3 separate regions of the Homo sapiens genome follow, and all the other regions are linked to region 2. The links are contacts of gene promoters, found by promoter capture Hi-C in blood cells and fetal thymus (Javierre and others, 2016). All regions are on one chromosome and are shown on one strand. Each heading gives the region's core, a stretch centred on a gene start or on the middle of the fragment in contact. The rest is flanking DNA. Distances are from core to core; before and after follow the strand shown. Region 1 has its middle 4.8 kb from the start of KRT27. Region 2 holds the start of KRTAP4-6 (keratin associated protein 4-6). Region 3 overlaps LOC105371777 (a long non-coding RNA gene).

What was found. Contacts are between HindIII fragments. The CHiCAGO score rates a contact against its expected background, and 5 or more counts as called.
Region 1: a contact is called between a fragment that was not itself captured here and the fragment with the promoter of KRTAP4-6 in region 2, in 1 of 17 cell types (erythroblasts). The highest score is 5.3, in erythroblasts.
Region 3: a fragment that was not itself captured here is called in contact with the fragment with the promoter of KRTAP4-6 in region 2 in 1 of 17 cell types (endothelial precursors); the score reaches 5.6 in endothelial precursors.

What each region holds. Positions count from the first base shown.
Region 1 is chr17:40,785,311-40,789,445 of GRCh38, forward strand. No RefSeq gene overlaps it. Among named protein-coding and RNA genes, the nearest start is that of KRT27, 4.8 kb to the left of the region's middle. The HindIII fragment of the contact is 4,148 bases long and covers 1-3,657 here.
Region 2 is chr17:41,138,823-41,142,631 of GRCh38, forward strand. It overlaps KRTAP4-6 (keratin associated protein 4-6), which reads right to left and starts at 1,722. Exons shown (of 1, transcript NM_030976.2): 1 at 611-1,722. The coding sequence starts at 1,665. The coding sequence ends at 1,048. RefSeq lists an enhancer at 854-1,366. The HindIII fragment of the contact is 3,012 bases long and covers 1-2,146 here.
Region 3 is chr17:40,852,021-40,856,272 of GRCh38, forward strand. All of the region lies in intron 1 of LOC105371777 (a long non-coding RNA gene), which reads left to right. Among named protein-coding and RNA genes, the nearest start is that of KRT12, 13 kb to the right of the region's middle. The HindIII fragment of the contact is 170 bases long and covers 2,662-2,831 here.

The DNA of each region.
Region 1 (4,135 bases), core at 334-2,833, 350 kb before region 2:
TCCCAGGTTCAGGTAATTCTCCTGCCTCAGCCTCCCAAGTAGCTGGGATTACAAGCACATGCCACCATGCCTGGCTAATTTTTGTATTTTTAGCAGAGATGGGGTTTCACCATGTTGGCCAGATTGGTCTCGAATGCCTGACCTCAAGAGATCCGCCAGCCTCGGCCTCCCAAAGTGCTGGGATTACAGGTGTGAGCCACCGTGCCTGGCGTAAAGAACCAGCCTCTTAAGATGAGTCCTGAGCAGCTAACTGGGCCTAAATTCAAATTAAAACCAAGCAACCATTTGCTGACTACAGGTCACATATTTACTCTGAGTTCCCAGAAAATGTGCACATCTGCTTAACTTTGGGACTTTCATAGCTTCCAGTTTATGCCACCTGAACCAAACAATAGGCTGTAACCTACATGGATCAATCAGAAGTCTGCATGCCCTGACTAATAAGAGCTAACTAAGCAAACATCAACCAACCAGAACTAAGTAAATTTCAATCCTGCATTTTGCATAAGCAGACCTAAGTGGGAACCTGGGTGGGAACTTTCTCTAAAAGACAAATTCCCTTCCTTTGTTCTCTGGAACACATTTTCATTTTACACCAAAGGCTGTGTCTCACCAGCTTGCTAGCTGTTTGCTGGAATGAAGTCTCTGTCCTTGAATTTCCTTCTCAGAGAACTTGTTTACAGATAAAAGAAAATATTAGAAAATGAGAGACTTGGGCCGGGCGCGGTGGCTCACTCCTGTAATCCCAGCACTTTGGGAGGCCGAGGTGGGCGGATCACGAGGTCAGGAGATCGAGACCATCCTGGCTAACACGGTGAAACCCTGTCTCTACTAAAAATACAAAAATATTAGCCGGCGGTGGTGGCGGGCGCCTGTAGTTCCAGCGGCTGAGGTAGGAGAATGGCGTGAACCCGGGAGGCGGAGCTTGCAGTGAGCCGAGATCGCGCCACTGCACCCCAGCCTGGGCGACAGAGTAACACTCCATCTCAGAAAAAAAAAAAAAAAAAAAAAAAAAAAAAAAAAGAAAAAGAAAATGAGAGACTTGGTCAAAGAAGAACAACATCAAGTAGGTCTTCTGGAAAGAGAGAAGGGAGAAATCATGAAGAAATTATTTTATAAACATATTTTCTGAAATACTACTCAGAACTAAACAACTGAGCTTCTAAATTCAAAGAGACCACCAAGAACCATGAATGATAAATGAAAAACATCCACAGTGAGGCACATCCACAGGATCTTTCAGAGAACCATGGCTGGGGGCGGGGGCGACAAACAAACACTTAAAATGTCAGGAGCAAAACCAACACATATTCAATTTTAGGAAAGCCATCATTCTAGTGAAGAATGCTTTCAAAATACGAACCCAGGCCAGGCGCAGTGGCTCACGCCTGTAATCCCAGCACTCTGGGAGGCCGAGGGAGGTGGATCACTTGAGATCAGGAGTTCAAGACCAGCCTGGCCAACATGGTGAAACCCCGTCTCTACTAAAAATACAAAAATTAGCTGGGCCATGGTGGTATGTGCCTGTAATCCCAGCTATTTGGGAGGCTGAGGCAAGAGAATTGCTCGAACCCATGAGGCGGAGGTTGCAGTGAGCTGTGATCACACCACTGTACTCCAGCCTGGTTGACAGAGCGAGATGCTGTCTCTTAAAAAAAAAAAAAAAGTGAACGCAAAATGATATCCAACCTTTTATTTCTAATCCTTTCCTAAGGTTTGTCACCTCATTTCTAAGTTTTTTTCTAATTGTGACTTATGTAGAGAACCAAAATTCTCTACTTTAACAACCACAAGTGAGGGTGGAATAAAAATCTTTTCCGACATGAAAGGTCTCAAAAAAATTATCTCTTTTGCACATTTTGTCAGGAAGCCACTAGAGAGAAAAACATGAAAAAGGAAAACTTAGGTTCCTGGAAATGGAGTTCCAATGTGAGCGCACTGAGTGAGTGTTCCCACATGACAGCTGGGTAGCAGGCTTAAAAAACAGCCAATGTTGCATAGGAGGACAGGAGATTCTGAAAGTGAGCACTTCAGGGGGATAGATGAAAATGATTTCTTGGTAGTTTTAATTGCATAAGAAAGTGGCATGAGAGATAAAGATACGGAGAAAACAGGGGTTAAACTACTTAGAAAATCGTTCTAACTTTAAACTAAGGGTCCTCCATGAATTCAGAAGGGAACGGAACGGCCTAGATCCTGTGAATTCTCAAAACTGACCAGCCATGGTTCCCTCCTGGGAGAGCAACCCACGACAAGGAGAAACTGCTAGGGGAAGAATCAAAATTATTCAGGAGAGGGTCACAGAGAGGAAGGAAACAGAAGGTCTAGATACAAGTGGAGGAGGGAAAAAAAGACAGGAAATTTCAGAAATCAAGCCAATGTATTTTTGAATCCTAGATAAAAACAAGAGAAAAGGGAGCTCTGTGAAGTTAGTAAAGCTATTTGGAATTATACTTTATTATTATTATTTTTTGAGACGGAGTCTCACTCTATTGCCCAGGCTGGAGTGCAGTGGCACGATCTTGGCTCACTGCAACTTCTGCCTCCCAGGTTCAAGTCATTCTCCTGCCTCAGTCTCCTGAGTAGCTGGGATTAGAGGCGTGCACCACCACGCCCAGCTACTTTTGTATTTTTAATGGAGAAGGGAGTTCACCATGTTGGCCAGGCTGGTCTCGAACTCCTGACCTCAAATGACCCACCTGCTTCGGCCTTCCAAAGTGTTGGGACTACAGGCGTGAGCCACCACGCCCGGCCTGGAATGATACTTCAGTCTAGAAGTTAAGGAACATGAATTGGCAATAAAACCAAGCAAAAGAAAAGGATTGAAGTAAAATCCCGGGAAATGTTAATACAAGATAATAAGGATGAGGAGCAGCATAGTGTCCCTATAGAAAATGAAAGCATACCGGAAAGACATGCCTACAAAACTGAGTAAGATACAACCCACCATTTCAAAGTGACTTAAAATCGCTAAAATGATAAAAGAAAAAAAAATTCCCATAAACCAGAATTAGAAAAAAACTTAGAAATGAGGTGACAAACCTTAGGAAATGATTAGAAATAAAAGGACAAAAACCTAATTAAACTAAGATACAATCACAGAAAATGAGAAATTTAGGGGAAATCAGTCACCAGAAGAAAGACATATTCTGGAAATAATCTTAAATAAAATATTAGCAAATACAATTCATTAATATATTAAATAGCAGAAAATATCCCAAGGAAGTTTTTCACCAGAAATGACAATGACTCAATATGATATGTAGCAGATAAAAGTGTCCTATGACAGAAACCATATGATCACCTTAAAAGTACTAGAAGAAAATGTGGGTCCCAGCAGTTGTAAAACTCAGAACCTATGATGGAAATTTTTATAAATATGACAATGAATTATACATTCCTATATGATGACAAAAATCGAAAGAAAAATAGAAATGTCAAAACATTTGCTACACCCAGTAACAAGTGGCAATTTATTTCCCTTGCAAAAAGCTCCCATAAATCTTGGGTTTTTGTTAAAAGAAGGAATAGCAGCGTGTAGTTTTTGCTTTAACAACCACTCGAGTACAGTGGTTGCATTCCTTTTTCTCCAGATGGAGACTGATTTTTGGGAAGTACTTTCAGTGTAGTAACCCAATTCAGCAAAAAGCAGGATGAAGCTTCAAGGATTGGAGAAGAACAGGCAATCATTAGCAGAATGTGTAAAGAACTCAGGAGCCCTAGAATTCCGCCCAGCAAAGGAAAATCAGTGAACCGAAGGCCATAGTCTGTTTTTATAAGCCAAGGAAGGAAGGACAGATTTAAGACCCAAAAGCCTGAGGACAAGATGTTTCCTCCCATCCTGTGGACTCAACAGAACTTAAAGGAAACTTATCCAGAATTTAATTTTACTCCCATTCCTTTGCTGAATAGATACACAGTTAATTCTGGTTTATTTGTTTCAGCAAGAAATGGTGAATTTATAGTTATCTTTTCAAGTCAACTGTCCCCTCACCACAAAGTGTAGTGTGCACTTTCTGTGCTGTAATGGGCCTTGCCTTGGAAAGCAGGCCACCATGAAGACAGTTAAAAAAAAATCAGTGTGTCATGAGCATACCTGATAAGCAGGTCTGGCATCACAGGCATAAAGCCTGTG
Region 2 (3,809 bases), core at 472-2,971:
GTGCCCCAAGACCATGCTATTAAATACACACCACAGAAAAGTCATTAAGGTAGGAAAAATACTAAAATTTGAGTATTTTACATTTTCTGCAATTCCCCAACTTCTCAGAAGATTGATTTTCCCTAAAGGTAATTATTTTGTTGTTAATGGATGGAGATGAAATTAAAGCAGCTGAGAGTGTGATAAATTGAATTACACGAGAGATGGATAAACCTTAAAGAGTAGCCTCTGGTTTTACAAGAATGGGATAAAAGAGATAAGGGCAGAACAAGATGACAGGATCGGGGGCCATGGGTGGAGGAGGGAAACGGAAAAATAAAGCAAATAAGAGAGGAGTGAGATTGTAGGGAAAGATACACTTTCAAAAATATTTAAGAAAATTTAGCTGTGGGATATAACCCTTCTCCATATTCATAAAAAAACTTAACTTAAAATCTTTATTTTTTTCAATACTTTTGGAAACATCCATGTATTGCCTTTTTTTTAGGTCATTACATGTTGCAATTTTCTTGAAGGTGAGAGCAAGAATAGGATTCGTTCAGTTGTGTTTTGGGTGGAATTTCTCAGGAACTAAGGACAATCATTACAAAGCAACACAAAAAGAACATTGTATTTCTATGCGACAAAAGTGGAGTTTTATTCAGAAGCAGCAAAAATAAGATACAGAAACATTGCTGTAAAAGGAAATACAGGGTGAAACAATCAGACTTTCAAATCTGAGAGTGAGACAACCTTGCCCCGAGTTACCCTGCAAGAATTTCCATGTTTGGGACAGAAGAACTTGGTATCCATAAATACAAATATAAGGTATAAAATTTGGTAAATTCTATTAATTTCTTTCTGTAAATAATATCTAATTTCACACTTGGGTCAACATGGGGAACATATATTCTAGATGTATAGCCAGGACATATATCCTAGATATATGTCCAGGATATGGAAACACAGTTGGTGGGAATGGCCTCTTCTGAGTTGTTTATGAGATGCACAAGGTCTGCTTCTGTGAGGAGTGAGCTGAAGGGGAGGAGATAGTTTCAGGCAAGGAGCTCAGCAGCAAGAGGAGGCACAGCACAAGGGACGGGGGCAGGTGGAAATGACACAGGTTGGGCGATAGCAAGTGGTGTGGCAGGAGACTCGGCCACAGACTGGACGCAGGCAGCAGCAGGGGCGGCAGCAGCACGGGCGGCAGCAGCTGGATTCACAGCAAGAGGGGCGGCAGCAGCTGGAGATGCAGCAGCTGGGACGGCAGCAGGTTGGCTGGCAGCACACAGACTGGCAGCACTGGGACCTGCAGCACCTGGACACACAGCAGCTGGGGCGACAGCAGCTGGAGATGCTGCAGCTGGGACGGCAGCAAGTGGGCTGGCAGCACACAGACTGGCAGCACTGGGGTCTGCAGCAGCTGGATACACAGCAGCTAGGGCGGCAGCAGGTGGTCCTGCAGCAGGTGGTCTGACAGCAGCTGGGACAGCAGCTGGGACGGCAGCAGGTGGGCTGGCAGCACACAGACTGGCAGCACTGGGGTCTGCAGCAGCTGGACACACAGCAGCTGGGGCGGCAGCAGGTGGTCCTGCAGCAGGTGGTCTGACAGCAGCTGGGGCGGCAGCAGGTCTCCAGGCCACAGCCCTGGTCAGAGCAGACGGAACCACAACAGGAGCTGACCATGGTGTCAGAGGGTAAAGGTTCTGGGTGGGTTTCCAAGAGAGTGAGTTTCGTGAGTTTGGGAGTCTCCTTGCTGCATGTCCCCTTTTATACCCAGCTGAGGAGCCTTTGTGATTATGAGAAGATTGTTTCCTTGTTTTTGTTTATATGACACAAATGCAATTACTAAATTATATTGTGTTTTTCTAGTAAAAAATCCCAATATATAGAAAATGATTATTTCCCTTTTCTCACCCTGGTGTTCCCACATGAGTCACCTCTTGTTTTCCTTTCCTTGGTTTCAGTGTCACATGACTTCAGTCTCTGGGTATCATGTGACATGGGAGGGCCACTGTCACTTGTCTGTTTCTCATCATGATATCGTTTTGGGAGAGCTTCTGATTGGGCTAAGATCTCTAGTGGAGAAATGCATGTGTCAATCAGCTGGAATGCTGACAGGAAAAAAAGAAAATATGCTCCTGTTTTTGAGTGTGAGAAATAAGGAAGCTTATGATTCATTGTATGTATTCTGGGTGGCCATTGAGCTAACTAAATTCCTAGGTCATTGCAAGCTGTGTTAATTCTCATCACTCTGGTGCACCTTGAAACAGTTAGTAGTGACTCACTGTTTCTAAGGAACAAAGCATCATCTGGGCTTGAGCTGCGTCTGTCTTCAAAAGTGTCCTACAGGCTGAAGTAGAGTAATGTGGATCATAGTTTTTGATCTGCCTTTTGAAATATCAAATGTGTAATGGTTATGCTTTATTGACATTTTGTTAAAATCTTTTTCATACATTTTGAGCTAAAACATCTAGCAGGGTTTTTTTTTAGTATCACTTATTTCTAAGATTTTTTAAGAAGCATTGAGAGGAATATAAAAGATATATTCTTTAACTTACAGGTACTTATGTAACTGTGGACCTCAATTTTAAAAATCACCCACTTTCTCTTCCTTTCCTCCCCTCTCACCTCTTCATTCCTTCCCTCTGCACACTCCCTTCTGGCAATACTATCTAATATCTTATCTAATTATATTCTTGCTTAAGAAATTCCAGAGGCTAATCTTGAAACAAACCAGGCACAGAGCCCTGAGGAATCCTCTCACTTAGGGGGAATCTTGAACAATTAATCCACCACCATTGGGCTGAAGTCAAAATAATGCCTCCCAAACCTCTGGACACCCAAGATAGCCATTGGAACAAGACATGCAGACTCAGCACCCTGCACCACCCCTGCATGTCTCCCATGCCAAGTTTCCCTTTCAAAACCCTATGGCAAATTTTAAAATTTAAGATGGCACTTTAGAATGCTAGTTCACTAGCTAAAGGATGTCAGTGAGATATATCTTGGGGTGAAATGTTTTTATTTCCTTCACTTAGCATTCTTCTAGTTATTCATTACCAGTTAGTTCAAATGCCATTTTTCTCCAATATCTTTCTTGGCCTCACACAAAGCAAGGTTATCCTCTGGTTTACTGGCTCTCCAACTAGAACTAACTTTCCTTTCACCAGCCCTTGCCTCTTATGTGTTGGCTTTCCAGCAGCAAGCAGCTGAACCTGGGTCCAGTTACATTTACACAGAAATTGCATTCATAACAAGTTTTTATTTTATTTATTTATGTATTTATTTTTTGAGATGGAGTTTCACTCTTATTGCCCAGGCTGGAGTGCAGTGGCACCATCTCAGCTCACTGCAACCTCTGCTTTCCAGGTTCAAGTAATTCTTCCGCCTCAGCCTCCCAAGTAGCTGGGATTACAGCCATGTGTCACCACGCCCGTCTAATTTTGTATTTTTAGTAGAGATGGGGTTTCACCATGTTGTCCAGGCTGATTTCAAACTCCTGACCTCAGGTGATCCACCCACCTTGGCCTCCCAAAGTGCTGGGATTATAGGAGAGAGCCACTGTGCCCGGCCCATAAAGAGTTTTTAAATAAAATCCTCACATGATCATGGTTCTAAATAAAGGGTCTTCTTTAGTGCCGTGGACATTCAGGGAAAAGCAATTATTCAAGGAAAGAACAAATTACCTTCACAATATTTTCTCTTCCTGGGAATGAAGGGATGTCTCTTGTGAACTTATGTGGGGCCTGAGGAACCTGGAGATCTCTGCCCTAGTGGAGTTTGTATTCTAGAAGGAGCTGATAGACACATGAATTTCCAATGGAGAA
Region 3 (4,252 bases), core at 1,497-3,996, 290 kb before region 2:
AGGAGACTTGGAGCTTGACCTAGTTAAAAAGCTACAATTGAAAGATTTTTAGATCAACATTGATAGAGGAATAATTTTTCTTTGATTGTTTAGTTAAAGTTCAATTTAACTGAAAGGTAAAAGCCAGTTAAAATAATGCTTTATTATTTGATTTTTTTTTCTGACAAAATGAAACATAATTTAAATGATCCATAGTGATCCTAAATAGATTTTTAGTTCAGAGATAAATTATCATAAGGACATAAGATGTTTGGATATATGTGTATAGCAAGTGTTTTATGATACATATTCTACATGTTGGGAATGTAGTTTTATATGATTAAGTTTTCAGAGTGCCAATGCTTTGGAAAGTGCAGCTAAAAAGTCTCCCTGTGGACAAATTGGCAAATAATTGTGTAACCTGCTACTTCAGCTTTGTGTCTTTGGTGTTATAATATTATATTGTCCTTTAGCTCCTCAGAAATGATCTCCTCTTTAATGCAACTGTTACCTGTGTACCCTGGAGGTGACAGATAATCATGATAATGATGACTAAAACTTTCATCAGGTTCTCCTCCCTACTGAGACCTTCCTTTCCCTTGAGCAGTTCTTGTCTTCCCACTGGCCAGCGTTCAGTTCTATCTCCTTCAGCTCTGCAAGCTGTAAAAACACCTTCCATAGTCACACAGGGGAACTGAGTAAAATTCTCCTAACTTCACATCACCTGAAGGACTTTTTCTTACCCCTAGCCTCTGAGTAATAACACTGAGAAGGACTTCATTGTTGTGCTTTCCTATAACACCACTGCTGGATTCTGATTAGCCTGGATCTAATTCTGTAGTACTAATTTTTGTTCCAGGATTATCTCTATTGGATGCTGATTATATATATTTGTATTTTTTAAATGATAAACATTTATTTTATTATTTGTCAGCCTACTCAGTCATATATTAGATAGGCTAGGGAAGTTTAACATTAAAATTATCATCCAGAATCAGCACATAAGGCTGTTTAAAATGGGTATCCAGTGAAAACACCGTAAAGCACCTTGGGAGGTACTTTTTATCCAATGTAAATTGTAATATACAATGTAAAAACTGTATGAAACTTTATCATGTATTTGCCTTTAGATCATAAAAACTGAGGTTATTTTCAATAGACTATGTAGAGTCTTACATATAGTTGGTGCTAAATAAAAGCTTGTTGAAGGAATTGAAGCCATCCTCACAGAATTAAGAATTCTGGGCAGAAATGTAGTTATAATTAAGCTTTAACCAGGCTGCACTTTGACCCACTTCCTTGTAACTAAACATCACATAACCTTAGATTCTGACCATTTGCATCCCCATTGTTCCTGTAGATAGAAATTCTAATGTTAGAACCATGAGGCTTTTGTTTAAGAATTGCTTAAACGGATCCTGAATTACTGTGGAACTGCTAACGCCAACCAATTTAAAGACTCCCACAGACAAACCAAATGAGCATGAGAGTACAGTTTCTTTCTCTCCCTGTCCTGGGACTTCACCCTGTACTCTTCAACTAATCAACAATCTCTATGCTTTGGCTCACTCCAAAACTCTTAAAAACCCTCGCCCCAGAGTCCCCGGGAAGATGGATTTGGGGTTTTCTCTTTTCTCCTCATTTGTTGGCCTTACCATTAAACCTCTGTCTCTGTTGCAACCTGGTGCCTCTGGGTATTGACTTGCTGTGAACATCCAGGCAATGAACCTATTACAGCTACAGAATGAATACACAAATAAATGCATATGTGATGCCCCACTTGTATACATAAATAAGCCAGCGGAGAAAACCAAACACCACATGTTCTCACTCATAAATGGAAGTTGAACAATGAGAACATGTGGACACAGGGAGGGGAGCATCACACACCGGGGCCTGTCGGGGAGTGAGGGACTAGGGGAGGGATAACATTAAGGAGAAATACCTAATGTAGATGATGGGTTGATGGGTGCAGCAAACCACCATGGCACGTGTATGCCTATGTTACAAATCTGCACGTTCTGCACATGTATCTCAGAACTTAAAGTATAATAATAAAAAATAAAAATTACACTGCAACTTGTCAAAAAAGTTATACTTGTTGCTCTGTTTATTTGAAACGTGAAATTGCAGCCTGACGTGATTTCTTTAAAATCCCATGTTACTTGCAAATAAATGAAATATTTCAAAATGAGTACACTTAGCAGAAACTTAGTAGTGTATGTATAACTTCAGGAGATCAATAAGTGCAAGTCAGTAACTAAAATGACCATATTCTTACCAACCAAGGTCATAGCGTCGTGTGTTTACGGTGTTTTTAAAGATTTCAAAATGCCGGGCTAATGTGATTATATGTGATATTATTGTTGTCTTTTTGTACAAAGTGAGTCATCTCAAGTTGAGTAACTTGTTCTGAGTAAGATAATGACTCACTGAGAAAGCCTGAAATACCATCTAAATGGCTTCTATTAGAGCCCACTGCTGTCTGTGGACTGTTTTATCAGTGTGATTTATTTACAGGTCTGCTTCTAAATTGCGTATTTGTTCCATCATTTTGAAGAAGAGTTGCATTTCATTAAGAATATGTACATAGTGAAAAAACAATGACATATTTTAGCAACTAGAATTCGCAATGAATTTAATTCTAAAGAAGAGTAGTATGCAGAATTTTTTTCCTGAAAAAGCTTGATGCTCATGTTTTTACAGTCTATAAAGTTAAAATATCTATTCTGAGTTTTGCAAACAATTTATTGCATGTGTGTAAAGCATTGCATTTATTTATAATTCTGCTATATTATGCTAATTTAAGAAATAAACCCTAAAATCATGCATGACAATTCCCAAGAATGCTAAGCTTTTTTTGAGACGGAGTCTCACTCTGTCGCCCAGGCTGGAATGCAGTGGTGCGATCTCAGCTCACTGCAAGCTCTGCCTCCCGGGTTCACACCATTCTCCCGCCTCAGCCTCCCAAGTAGCTGGGACTACAGGTGCCCGCCACCACGCCCGGATAATTTTCTGTATTTTTAGTAGAGACAGGGTTTCTCTGTGTTAGCCAGGATGGTCTCAATCTCCTGACCTCATGATCTGCCCGCTTCGGCCTCCCAAAGTTCTGGGATTATAGGCGTGAGCCACTGCTCCCAGCCCCAGTTTTTCTTAATTTATTTTATATACTCTGTATTTAGTTGTAGAATCCTCCCCTTCAATTTGAGCAGCTACATTAATATTAGCATTTTAGACAGGCACCGTGGTTTGCACCTTTCATCAGGCATCTGACATTTGACTAAAATGGCAGTAGTCTGAGGTGGGAGGATCACTTGAGCCCAGGAATTTGAGGCTGCAGTGAGCTATGAGCACACCATTGCACTACAGCCTGGGTGACAGAGAGCGACCCCATCTCTGAAGAAAGCACATCTTATAGTTTCAAAGTGCTTTATGGCTTGTTAAGCTCCTTCACAGAAGTTGGCTTATTTGATGCTCACAACTTGTGATAGAGGGAAGATAAATATTATTCCCCCCTCCCCATATGTTGGGTGAGAAAAGTGCACTTTTTTTTTTTACAAAAGTGGAATAATTTAGGATTGTGCATGAAGGGAAGAAAAAGAATAAATATGTCTGGGGGAAATATGTAAACCAGTTCATTTCTTTAGTTGTAGAGAGACTTTTTTTCTTTGCATAATAATAGCAGGTAATATTTAGTGCTTACTATATGCCAAGTGTGAATTGACCCATAGAATTCTCATAATAGGGCGTGAAGCAGGTATCCTTTTTTGCCTTGATTTTAGGGAACAGAGAACTATGGAACAGAGAGGTAAGTAAAACCATTAGAAAGTGCCAGAGCTGGGACCCAAACTCAGGCCTTTGAACTGTGCTTTTAACCTCTATGCTCAGTGGTGTACTGGTGTAAAACAGTTTTCTGGGAAATACATTTTAAAAGCCCAAGTTCCATTTGTGTAAATACTCCCATCATGGCCAATTTCAAGCTGCCCATGGTTTAATAGCCAGCTTGGAAAATTCCTGAATATTTACTGATCAGTGATTAAGAGCCAGCTTGCCCTAGGACACCTTTGACGATCCTACATGGCCTCTCTGCGCCTGTGGACAGTATCATCTGAAGAAAGAATATTCAATTATTATTTTAAAATTGACTATTGAGTTAATATTTACTTACAATGAAATATATTCGTTTTAAATGTGCAGTTTGAAGAGCCTTGCTAAATGGACCCATCACCACAGTCAAGATACGGAACACTTCCATCGGTCCCAAAGGTTCTCA